Regions from separate parts of the Homo sapiens genome. Here regions 1 and 3 are each linked to region 2. The links are contacts of gene promoters, found by promoter capture Hi-C in blood cells and fetal thymus (Javierre and others, 2016). All regions are on one chromosome and are shown on one strand. Each heading gives the region's core, a stretch centred on a gene start or on the middle of the fragment in contact. The rest is flanking DNA. Distances are from core to core; before and after follow the strand shown.

What was found. Contacts are between HindIII fragments. The CHiCAGO score rates a contact against its expected background, and 5 or more counts as called.
Region 1: a fragment that was not itself captured here is called in contact with the fragment with the promoter of APOBEC4 in region 2 in 1 of 17 cell types (megakaryocytes); the score reaches 8.6 in megakaryocytes.
Region 3: a fragment that was not itself captured here is called in contact with the fragment with the promoter of APOBEC4 in region 2 in 3 of 17 cell types (erythroblasts, M2 macrophages and total CD8 T cells); the score reaches 9.9 in erythroblasts.

The regions. Positions count from the first base shown.
Region 1 is chr1:184,690,201-184,693,842 of GRCh38, forward strand. It overlaps EDEM3 (ER degradation enhancing alpha-mannosidase like protein 3), which reads right to left. Exons shown (of 20, transcript NM_025191.4): 20 at 37-3,642. Among named protein-coding and RNA genes, the nearest start is that of EDEM3, 63 kb to the right of the region's middle. The HindIII fragment of the contact is 1,162 bases long and covers 812-1,973 here.
Region 2 is chr1:183,651,275-183,654,573 of GRCh38, forward strand. APOBEC4 (apolipoprotein B mRNA editing enzyme catalytic polypeptide like 4) reads right to left here and starts at 2,042. Exons shown (of 2, transcript NM_203454.3): 1 at 1,798-2,042. It also overlaps a transcript of RGL1 not described here. The HindIII fragment of the contact is 5,397 bases long and covers 1-2,834 here.
Region 3 is chr1:184,659,589-184,663,283 of GRCh38, forward strand. No RefSeq gene overlaps it. Among named protein-coding and RNA genes, the nearest start is that of EDEM3, 93 kb to the right of the region's middle. The HindIII fragment of the contact is 734 bases long and covers 1,739-2,472 here.

The DNA.
Region 1 (3,642 bases), core at 143-2,642, 1.0 Mb after region 2:
TGTGTATGGAGAGAGTGAGCAAGCGCTGGATCATAATTTATACACAATTCTAGAGTTTTATTCACTTAGCATTACCTTTGTGCATGCTACTGACTTGTTGAAAAACTTTCAGTGATTTCTTAGAACAAAATCCTTACTTTAGCCCACAAGCTTGGGTTTCTACAGCCTAAAATGTCCCCAGAATTCAATCCCCGGAGGATAAAATGAGTTTAAAAAAAAAAGGAAAACAGAGTGATAAACATCAAGACATAAAAGTATGAGGATATGCACAGTGATTCTAAAAATTCAAATTAAAACTAAACTGGAATATTTACATATTTTATTAAATCTTTACAATCAGTAATTATAATCAAATACATAATTATATACAGGATTATATACATTTTGCCCAGACTTTTACATCACAGTACATAGTTTCCCTTAGAAATATTGTATACATTTATCACCAAACAATAAAATCCAACAACAGTAGTGTTACAGCACCTGTTAGTACAGACATCTTTTTCATAAATTACATCATAAGAAAATATACGGCTGTAAATTGGGCTTTTAAAAATGTCTTTTATAAAATCTGAACATACAATATTTCATTCACAGAATGTTTTTTTTTTCTATGTTCTGACTGAAGCCTTGTGCATAAAACGACCGGCTGGAATATTTACTAAATTCTACCCCCCTCTAAAATTATAAGCAGTATTTGAATTACTTATGCTGAGCTTTCTTCATGATGAATTTGGCATGGGGTTTGGTGAGAGAACAAATGTTGGCTTTACTATAAAAAAGGTTGTGTGATGGTAATTTAAATTTTAAAAGCTTCTTGAGAGAGTAATTACATTAGTGAAGTTAAAATCAGAAAGTGTACAATTTTTCTTTTTACTAATACTGTAAAGAAAAAGGGAGACGTATAATGCCAAGAGTTAATTTGTTCTGAAACAATTATACTCTTTTTGGAAGCCTATTGCAATTTAAGAAGAAAAAAGAAAACTTGCCTAACAAAATATCCCATACCAAACATATCTAGTAAATTACAATTCTTTCACACTTAAAACTTTATGGGAAAAGTATTGCAAATAAGGGCATATCATTTCAATGAACTTTTATATGCAGAAAAAAACTAGCTATTTTATTTTTAGTAGGTAAACAGGTTAAGTTTTAAAACTTGAAAATACCTGAATTAAATACTTGCTCTAATATCTCTTAAAGGATTTCAGCTAAAATCCTTGATTCCAGATTTGTAAACATTATATAAATCTTTCTTAAACAATTTTATGGCTGTGGTGATCACTTCAGCTATATTTCTAAGCAGTCAACATTTAACTGAGGTAGACCAGATGTTTCTAAATTCGGGGTTTCATAGAATCCCCTGAATCTTTAGCAAGTTACTAAAATGTCTATAAAAGTTAACTAAAAAACAAAACACTAAAAAAAAAAAAAACAACTAATGCCTTTGGAATTTTTAATGAACTCAAAAACTACTTTGTGGCAGTATGTCAAGTAAGTAAATGAATGTAGAGTTGTAATTACAACGTTGGAGTTTTTTAGACGAACATTATCTCCTCTTTTCTTAACTAGGGAAATATTGAGTATAATTCCTTCTGGGTATTAAGAAAAATTGGTTAAATTTTTTCCTTTTCTTTTTTTAAGGATTTACTTTTCTTAACAAGTGAACAATTTGCTTCTAAGCGTCAATGAAAGGCAACACCTCCCTCTAATGGCCAAAGGAAGAGAGTGGCAGTAAGCTGGCTTTTCCAATGTGTCACACAATCCTTCATGCCATTAAGTTCTCCTTGTTGGAAAAGAAATTAGGTTGTTTTGATAACTTAGAAAAGTTAGTTTTAGACAACAGTGACTTTCAGCTACAAATACAAAATCAAATCCATGTATATAAGGCTTCTGTAATCGATGTCTTAGAGGAACATCTGCTCATTTTCTCCAAGCCCCAGTCCTATAAATCAAGGCAAGTCAAGTAATTAAGCTTCAACTATTTTGGCAGCTTTGCAATTAAAATGAACAAAGCACTATATCTATCCTTCCATATACTGTATATATTATAGTTCTATCTTGTTACACCAAATCTCACATGCAGAGAGACTAAAAATATCCATTTTGGTTTCAGGTATAATTAAAAGCCAATAAGGGTCTTGCATACTATTCTTTTTCCCCTCCCCAAAGTGAATTCTCCATCAGATTTACTACTCCCTGACTCAATTATATTTACCTGGAATATCTGAATGCAGGTATTTATCCTCTCAGAAAAGAATATGTTTACCTGGGATCTAAACATACTGTACACGAATATACATAACTGCAATACAGCACTGCTGTTTTTAACAGCTCCACTTACACCTCATCAGTACCTCACAACCGTGTTTTAGGAAAAAGTTTTGTGTAATGTTATGGTAAAGAGAAGAAAATTATGTCTCTTAAATATTCCTTTAGAACAAATTCAGGCAAGTTTAAAAAATAAATAAAATGAATAAAGCCATGATTTCAACAACAGGGCTGTCTACAAACATCAACAACAAAATTTAAAAATTTTTAAGACTTAAATGTGGCCAGCACCAGACTACTACAACAACAACAAACCAAAAAAAAAAAGGGGGGGGGTGGAAGTCTCATTAAGCTATATAGCTATATGTAGTTGTATTGTACTTTTTTTTTTAAACACAGGTCACCATACACTAATTTTCAAGTCCGTATCAGAAGGAATATCTGTTAAAAACAAAAACAAAAACCATGATTCAACAGAAAATGTGACAGATTCCTTAGGTGCAACTTTAGAAACCTAAGTTTCAAAGGAGAAAAACAGTAGTTACTCCAGGAATTTTAACTCACTAACCACAGTTCTATCATGGCTCTGTAAGACAGAAAAATGGAACAAAATGTATATAGCTGTTGGCGATACGAGCCTTGTGGCTCAAATTGCATACCAAACATGGGATGGAGTAAGGCTGATGGCTAGAGGTAATCACCTCTAAGAGAAATGAACTGGAAATGATTTATAATCTACCCTACAAGGATATAATGCTAGGTTCCATTTCAGAGTAGTCACAGCTTTCCCTATGGAAGGCCCAATGGGAGGTTCATATTGCAACATTACAGTTTCTCCCTTACTCCATTTTTCAGAAGTATTAAGTAAGCAATCTCCACAATGTATTATATGACCTTTTTACCTGGTCCCACTGATTAGTCTTTATGCAGAGAACTCACTGAGAAAGTACACTGGCTTCACCTTTGGTTTAAATAAAAAAGACATTGTTAAGAAGGAAAAAAAATCAAGTCATCTTGATCATTTGTCACTAAATGAAACAAGAGAAAGCAATGAGCAAAGACTGTTTTCACCATAAATGCATTTGCTTCATAACCACTTAGGTCACTTAGAGTGTTTTGTGAAGGCAGCATAATCAGAATGCCACAATACTCGGATGCATCTTCCCAAAAGAGCCTCTAACCCCCAAAACCAAGAAAGGCGAGCTTCCTTTAATTAGAAGGCTATCCAAACTCCTATTCCCCACTCCACTACTAAATGAATTTTGTTTCTTGTCTATCCAGAGACAACAGAAATCTGGTTCGCAGGAATGCTCAGTAATCTTTCCCTGGCCTGAGGTGTTGCAGGGTGGTGCAGTGCTGCATTTGAAGGGG
Region 2 (3,299 bases), core at 792-3,291:
GCAGAAAATTTAAATGAGGTAAACTGACCATTGCAACAGAATATATTTTTCACTTTTCAAAATCTCACTTATCATATCACAAGTATGAATACTTGTGCTAATAAATAAATTATGGCCTCTCATATGGAAGTGCTATGTTCACCTTCTGTCTTCCTCAGCCCACATCAGCTCATTCATTGCTGTATTTGATACAGCTTGATCTCTAGCCTGAAACCTGCAGAGTTCCTATGCTAATCCTATCCTGGGCAGAAAATATGTTAAAAGCCTCAATCCAGCTGTAGGTGGAATGTAGCTTTATTCATGTCACCATTATCTTAGTGGCTAATATCCTGCAGTAACTCTGGCACCACATACCCACCAGATTCTAGATTTCTCCTAGCCTCTGCTGTGTCATCTTAATCCATAGGATTGGACATTAGCTTTGTTTTTTCCTTAGTACTATATTTTCCTGATGTAACTGAATTCCTGCCTTGAGGCTTCCTAGACCTTGTCATAGCTTTCCTTCTAGAGAGCTGGATTTAACCCTTGGCAGTGGACGATCTCTTGGAACCTGACGCCATTTCCTGCTTACTCCCGAGCATTGTTTCCTCTCTGGACCTCCTCCTTGCTTAGCCTTCATCAGGCTGGATGGATCTCTCCATCAGAACTTGCCAAAACCAAGCCCAAACTTTCATGCTTTTTAATATTGTGCCCTTGATGTGGTCGACTTATGGGTGGTACACCGGACATCCAGGTTACTGCTCAGATTACAATTTCAACTCACCCATAGACAATTTACAGATTGATTTGGCTAAATGTTATGGAAACAGAACCAAAAGGCACTTTTCTGTCTTTATTACTATTTCTTAAGGTGATGTGTATGTGGAGTTAACTATATATAATGGTCCCATAATTACCCTTTTGGGAAACAAAAGTCTTTGTGTGTTTTTAGATAAAGGTAGCAAAATGGAAACTCCCTATTGCTTTTCTAAGCACGCCTTCCTTTGCACCCCCATCTTCTGTGGCTGTTTTAGCCAGAAATGATACATCATTACTGTCTTTAAGGAGATGGAGAGGACTGTGGCTTTAACACATAGTGGAGGGAGCTCTGTAGTCTCATTCTTGCTGACAACTTTTCAGTGTCAACCAACTATAGTTTCCTATTGGTGAAGTTTTCACTTTTTCAGAGTCTTTCTGGGCTTGTTCTTTGATCACCCTCATCTGAAGAGGAAGCAGGAAAGAACTGTTGCCCTCTTTGAACTCTTAGAGAATTCATGGTTTATTGTATCAATTTGTTATCGACCACAGATTATCTTGTTAACTTTTGGTATCTGTCATTTTATTCTCCCCAACCAGGTGGAAATGTACCCTGTTTAGGCCCAGGACCTACCTTAGCAACCTTGATTGGCTCACAAGCCAGGTTGCTTAAGACTTGTTTCCCCAGCAGCTGGTGTCCCTACTTCCTGCCTAGCCCTTTTCCTTTTGCTTTGTCTGTGCTTGGGAAATACATGTTATACTCTGTAGAGCAGATTTGCTGGCAGTAAGAACAGAGATGTGTAGAGCCCAGCGTGCTGGAGGGCTCTCTGCATCTGGCTGTGAGTGGCCCCTGGACTGGGACCGTGGGAGGACAGCTTTCCATAGTTTAACATAAATGAACCACACCATAAGGACAATCTGCTCTCATTTCACTCAACTAGGATTTAGTGAGTACTGTTAAAGCACAGTTTGCACTGGAGTAATTGGAGAATGGAGTTTGCCCTTCACAATCTGTGCACAATCTGTTAGCAGCTAAAAACAAATGTTAGCAGTTATAATTACCATCAATTTGTCTCCAGGCTTGGATCACATTCCAGGTGTTAGAAGAGATGGTCCATTTCCTTTTTTTTCTCCTTTAAGTCCCATGCCCTGTTTCAAGTAGCTTCAGAAGGCAATTGTGCTGTAAAGATTCACCTTGTAATGGGTTCAGGACTCTTTCACAGTTTGTGTCTATTCGTTCATTTGAACTTTGCTGTTCCAAGTTAGAAAGCCCTTGCTGAGGTGTGGCTACCTCTAAGAACACTGTTGATTGGGTGCCATGGTAACGTTTGCAAAGTAGCTACTGCTAGGATACAGCTCTGACACTTATTACTTTATTTGCATATCAAGCCACCTGTTCCAAAGATGAAAATATACAGGACTGCATATCCCAGTCTGGGTAAAAGGATAATAGCTGACTGTTGAAGAGAACATGTTGCAGTTTTTCTCCTGCTAGCTGAAGAATCAAGTTCTGAGGGCCTGCTCCTCAGCACCTTTCTCCTGGTCTAGAGTAGGTGCCAGGCCTGGCGGTTCTGTTGCCTGCGTGGGTGCCAGGGCTTCTCCTTGGGAGGCTTGCCCTCTGTGAGAGGGAGCAGAGAGTTGACTTCCTCCAAGAGGCCCATAGTCCCTGAAGGGGGTGTTTTTGATTCTGTCTAAACCTAGGCTATGTGTTAGCGGTTTCCCTCCTCTTAGAAATTGCCTGGAAGACTCTTGCTATTGGTATGTATGTGGTTCCCTCCAGTTTAAGACAAGATTTGTTCCAGGATCGGTTGTAGCCCCTTCTCTGTGGCTAACGGAAGAGCCACTTGTCCTTCTCCATTCTTTTCCTTAGTCTCCCTTGACCCCCACATCATCTCCTAGACACAAGGCACATTGATAGTCACAATTCACTGTCAATCACTCTGGATTATTCCCTCATTCCCCTTTCCCAGGCCACCTGAAGGAGTGAGTGGGGATTGCTATTGTGTACATTCCAGTAATAACTATTGGCTGTAAGCAGACATACTCTAAAAATAACTCAGGGATACTGAGCACCCAGAGGGCACCTTCTGTCTTCTCGAAGCTTCGCCACGCCTGTTTCCACTGTCAGACTTCCAGTCTGCACCACAGCACACATCCTTTCTCATCCAGAGTGCTCCTACTAGACGAGATGTTTTTGTCTCCTAAGGGCCTCAGGTGTATTCATGAACTCCTCAGCTGGTTATTTTCAGTTTCATCTTCCTTGGTGCTTGCTCTGGCACATGGTCACTGCTGCATCCTGTCCCTTCCCCACAGTTTGCCATGGGTCATCCCTTTTTTCTCATTGCTTGCATCTTCTAACTGAATGAACTTGTAAATATGGAACTGAAAGTCAATCCTCATAGCTCATCTTTTATTTAATCCTAATAAATGACAATCTATTGCAAACATTACTTTAAAAATATTACTTATCAAAAGCTGGGTGAAAGGATAATAGCTGACTGTTGAAGAGAACATGTTGGGGTTTTTCTCCCGCTAGCTGAAGAATCAAGTTCTGAGGGCCTGCT
Region 3 (3,695 bases), core at 856-3,355, 1.0 Mb after region 2:
GATTTTAATGAAAATGGTATTCTCATTTCATTATTTATGATGATGTTTGCTATTGATATTTGTTCATCATTATCATATTTTCATACTTTTCTATTTATAACTTTACTTAGTTTTTTGACTAATAATGTGCTTTAATATACTGATATAATGAATTTCATTAATATATTTATTAATATTGAACCATTCTTATATTCTTGTATTTTTATAATAAGCCCTCCTTGGTCAAATATTATTACTATTATGATACATTGTTCTCTTTGCTCATTCTTTCTTAAACATTTTTGCAATAATATGTATTAGTATGCTTGCATGATAGTTTTCTTCTGTTTTAAACCTTTTAAAGCTTTCCCACTCAAGTTATTCTCAATTTATTCATAGGGAATTTTTTTCTTATTTTCACAGTTATGTGTATCTCTTATGGAATCCTGTAGCTAGAATTTTCTTCCTAATTTGTTTTTTAACTAATTTTTAACTAATTTAAAAGCTGAAGAAAACAATGATTTTAAAATGCAAGCCACTGTTTCCTGAAAAGACTGAAACTCAAATTCACTTTTGGTAGACTGTCCTTTTATTCTGGGAAAACCATATGAAGAAACCGTGTGGTTTCATAAAGTTTATTCAGAAAAAACCTAGTAAAATCATCCCTCTCCCAAAAGAAATATTTTTGCCTCAGAAGCTGAGTGTTCTGCAGGGTGATGCTAACATGTGTCTGCTTGTGCCAGAGCTCAGATTTCTGTAGACTGGGTTATGTTTTCTTCTGACTGGAGATTTCATGTTTGTTTTATGGTGAGGAGGGAGGGAAAGAGAAAAATAGGAGAAATGTTTTCCTTTTCTGAATGATTTAGAATGCACCCTATATCAAACGCATGAGGATTTTTAAAGCATAATTTGCAAGATGTAGAGAGCTGGAAAGAAGTGCTACAGGACCAAATCCCATGTATGACACAGTAAGAAAGAAATGGACTGGCCTAGGGCAGCTCTGCCTAAACCATTTTGTAAGATTAAGCCACCCAGAATCTGCTGAAGAGAAACCAGCTTGAGGTGGCTGTCCCACCCACTCCCCACCTGTGTGTGTAAAATGGCATTCCCCAAGAAAGAGGCAGTCATTCCCCCTTTGAAAAAATGCTGAGAAAGGGTAGATCCTAACACAAGAAATGGAGCCTGGGAAGCCAGGCCCTGAGTTGGGCTGAGGCAGAGAGCATTTTCTTCTCTCCTGACCTTGGGCAGTTGGGTCTGGACAGGAAGTCATGATGCAGGGGTGGGCAGGCCCAGCCAGTGGAGCCTGGCCCCAAAACCCTCTGCAGAGGCCAAGGATAGGCCCACCTGGACCTGTGAGCCCTGACAGTGGCCACCTCTAACATTAATTATGACCTATTCTCTACTGTGTCCTACTTCCTTTTTGATGTCCCCAGCCCTTCAGAAAATTCCTCTAAAGAGCACCAATACTGAGGGTAGTGAAGGAGGCTGCTCCCTCACTGTGGAGGAAGAAGAAAGCTGTGTCTTCTCTGCCACGCCACCTCCCCAAAAGCAGATCACTGTGGGAGTGTAGTTAGTCCCCCGCCTCTATCTCTCCAGGGTCTGCCTCAGTTGCAGGCAGTCTCCTTGCCCCTGACATTCCCTTCCTGGGCAGCTCTCATATGGAGACTGAGCAAAGCAGCTTATTAAAATCCTGGCCCAGGTGGCACAGAACATTTGAAGGGCAATGGTCTCTCCGGAGATTCTTCACCTGGTTGCCGGAAGCTTTATTGGGTCTGCATTGAAGCTGTCTTCCCAGGCCCTATTCTCTTTCTTTTCTTCCTTTCCAAGGTGTTGATCTCTAAAACACCATGAAGTCCTCTTGAAGAACGCTGTCCTTGCTTCTGCCTTTGGAAAACCCAAACTGCAAGGGCAAAGGGCACAGAAGCAGTGGTGTGCTGACAGAACAGAGAAGTGGCAGAAGAAGACTATAGCCTGCACCTGAGCTCCTGGAGGTGGGGGTGGGGAATCTCAGAAGTAATTGACAGGGTCAGATGAAGAAGACAGACCAGTGATCTGTGAACCCTTGTAGCGCACGGACCCTCTGACTCTGATCCTTGCCACCTGCCTTCTATGGCAAAAGAGACTGCTGTGTTTGTTCATCGATCAAACTCCTTCCCACAAGTTTCTCTTGGCCAAGAATGTCTCTTCAGCCCTGAGTTTCCCATTTACTAATAGGTCTTTGTCACTCCAAGTGACAAGGCTTCCCATCTCCTGCAGTCTTATCCTCTAATCCAGTTATTTCTGTTTTTGGAGCATAAACAATAACTCCCCAGGTTTACCCTTTTAGCTTCCCCAACGCTTATGCTTCCCTATTCTTTCCTCCAGTTAGAGCAAGAGCAATCAGACCAAGATTTCAGCTCATGTTTATCACACACCATCTCAACAAAATCTACTAATGCTTTACAAGCCCTCACAAGCATTTCCTGCAGGCTCCACCACTTTGAGAAAAAGCAAAGCTTTTGAATTATCCCTGCTAGTGGTGTGCTGGTAAAATCAGCTCTCTGAAAAGTACATACATACATAGAGAACAATATAGCATTTGCTGATTTCCAATTTTGGTGGTGTAAATGCTCATACCATAACAGATTTCAAGCTACCAGTGAAATTTCACAGGCTTTTACAACCAGCTTGTAAAGTTCCTGAGTATTTAACATTGGCTTTTGATATCCTGTAGGAGCTGGCTTCAGCAGCCACTGGCAGGGCTATCCTCCAATTCTCCAGGTCACCCCCAACCAGCACCCATCTTATTCTCTTAGCAATGTCCTTGACTAACATAATTTTGTCATGACAGCATTCACCATGGCCCACACTGTCTTAGAGACACATTGCCTATCTGATCTCATTTAATCCTCACAAAATCAACCATCTTTATCTCCATTTCACATATCATGGTTACTACTGGAGGCTTATCACCTTTCATCAGACCTGCACTACACATAAAACATAACACACTGCATTGTTGGGCAAAGCAGTGCAGCCCTCTTACAAGTATTTTTTTAACACAATAAAGTTCTTTCAAGTGTAAATTTATTTTTCCATGACAAAAATAATGAACCACTTTGCAAAGAAAATTGGAAGGCAACCATTAATTCTTAAATGTGTTAAGATTATTTGATGTCATGGTAAAATGTTTATGAAATATTACATTTTAAAAGTGTAGTATAGTAACCTACAATGTGATACCAATTCTGTAAAACAGTAAATGTATTAATGAAACACTCTAAGTAAAGGAAAAGTGAGTAGTTATCGCTCTTTTTTAGTATGTTTTAATTGATATATCATGGTTATATATATTTTTGGGGTACATGTGATATTTTGATACATGTATACAACATGTAATGATCAAGTCAGGGTAATTGGGATGTCTGTCACCTCAAACATTTATCTTTTTTTGTGTCATGAACATTATAATTCTTTCCTTGTAGTTGTTTTAAAATATACAATAAATTATTATTCATTATAATTTTTTAATTAAATATTTTTAAAATTTTTATTATTTTTATTTTTTTTAGAGACAGGATCTTGCTGGTCACCCAGACTGGAGTGCAATGGTGCAATCATAGTTCACTGCAGCCTCGAACTCTTGGGCTCAAGCAGTCCTCCTACCTCAGCCTCCAGAGTTGTTATCTATAATTTTGAACAGTAGTTATCTGTAACAGTGAGAAGCAAAGGTTTTC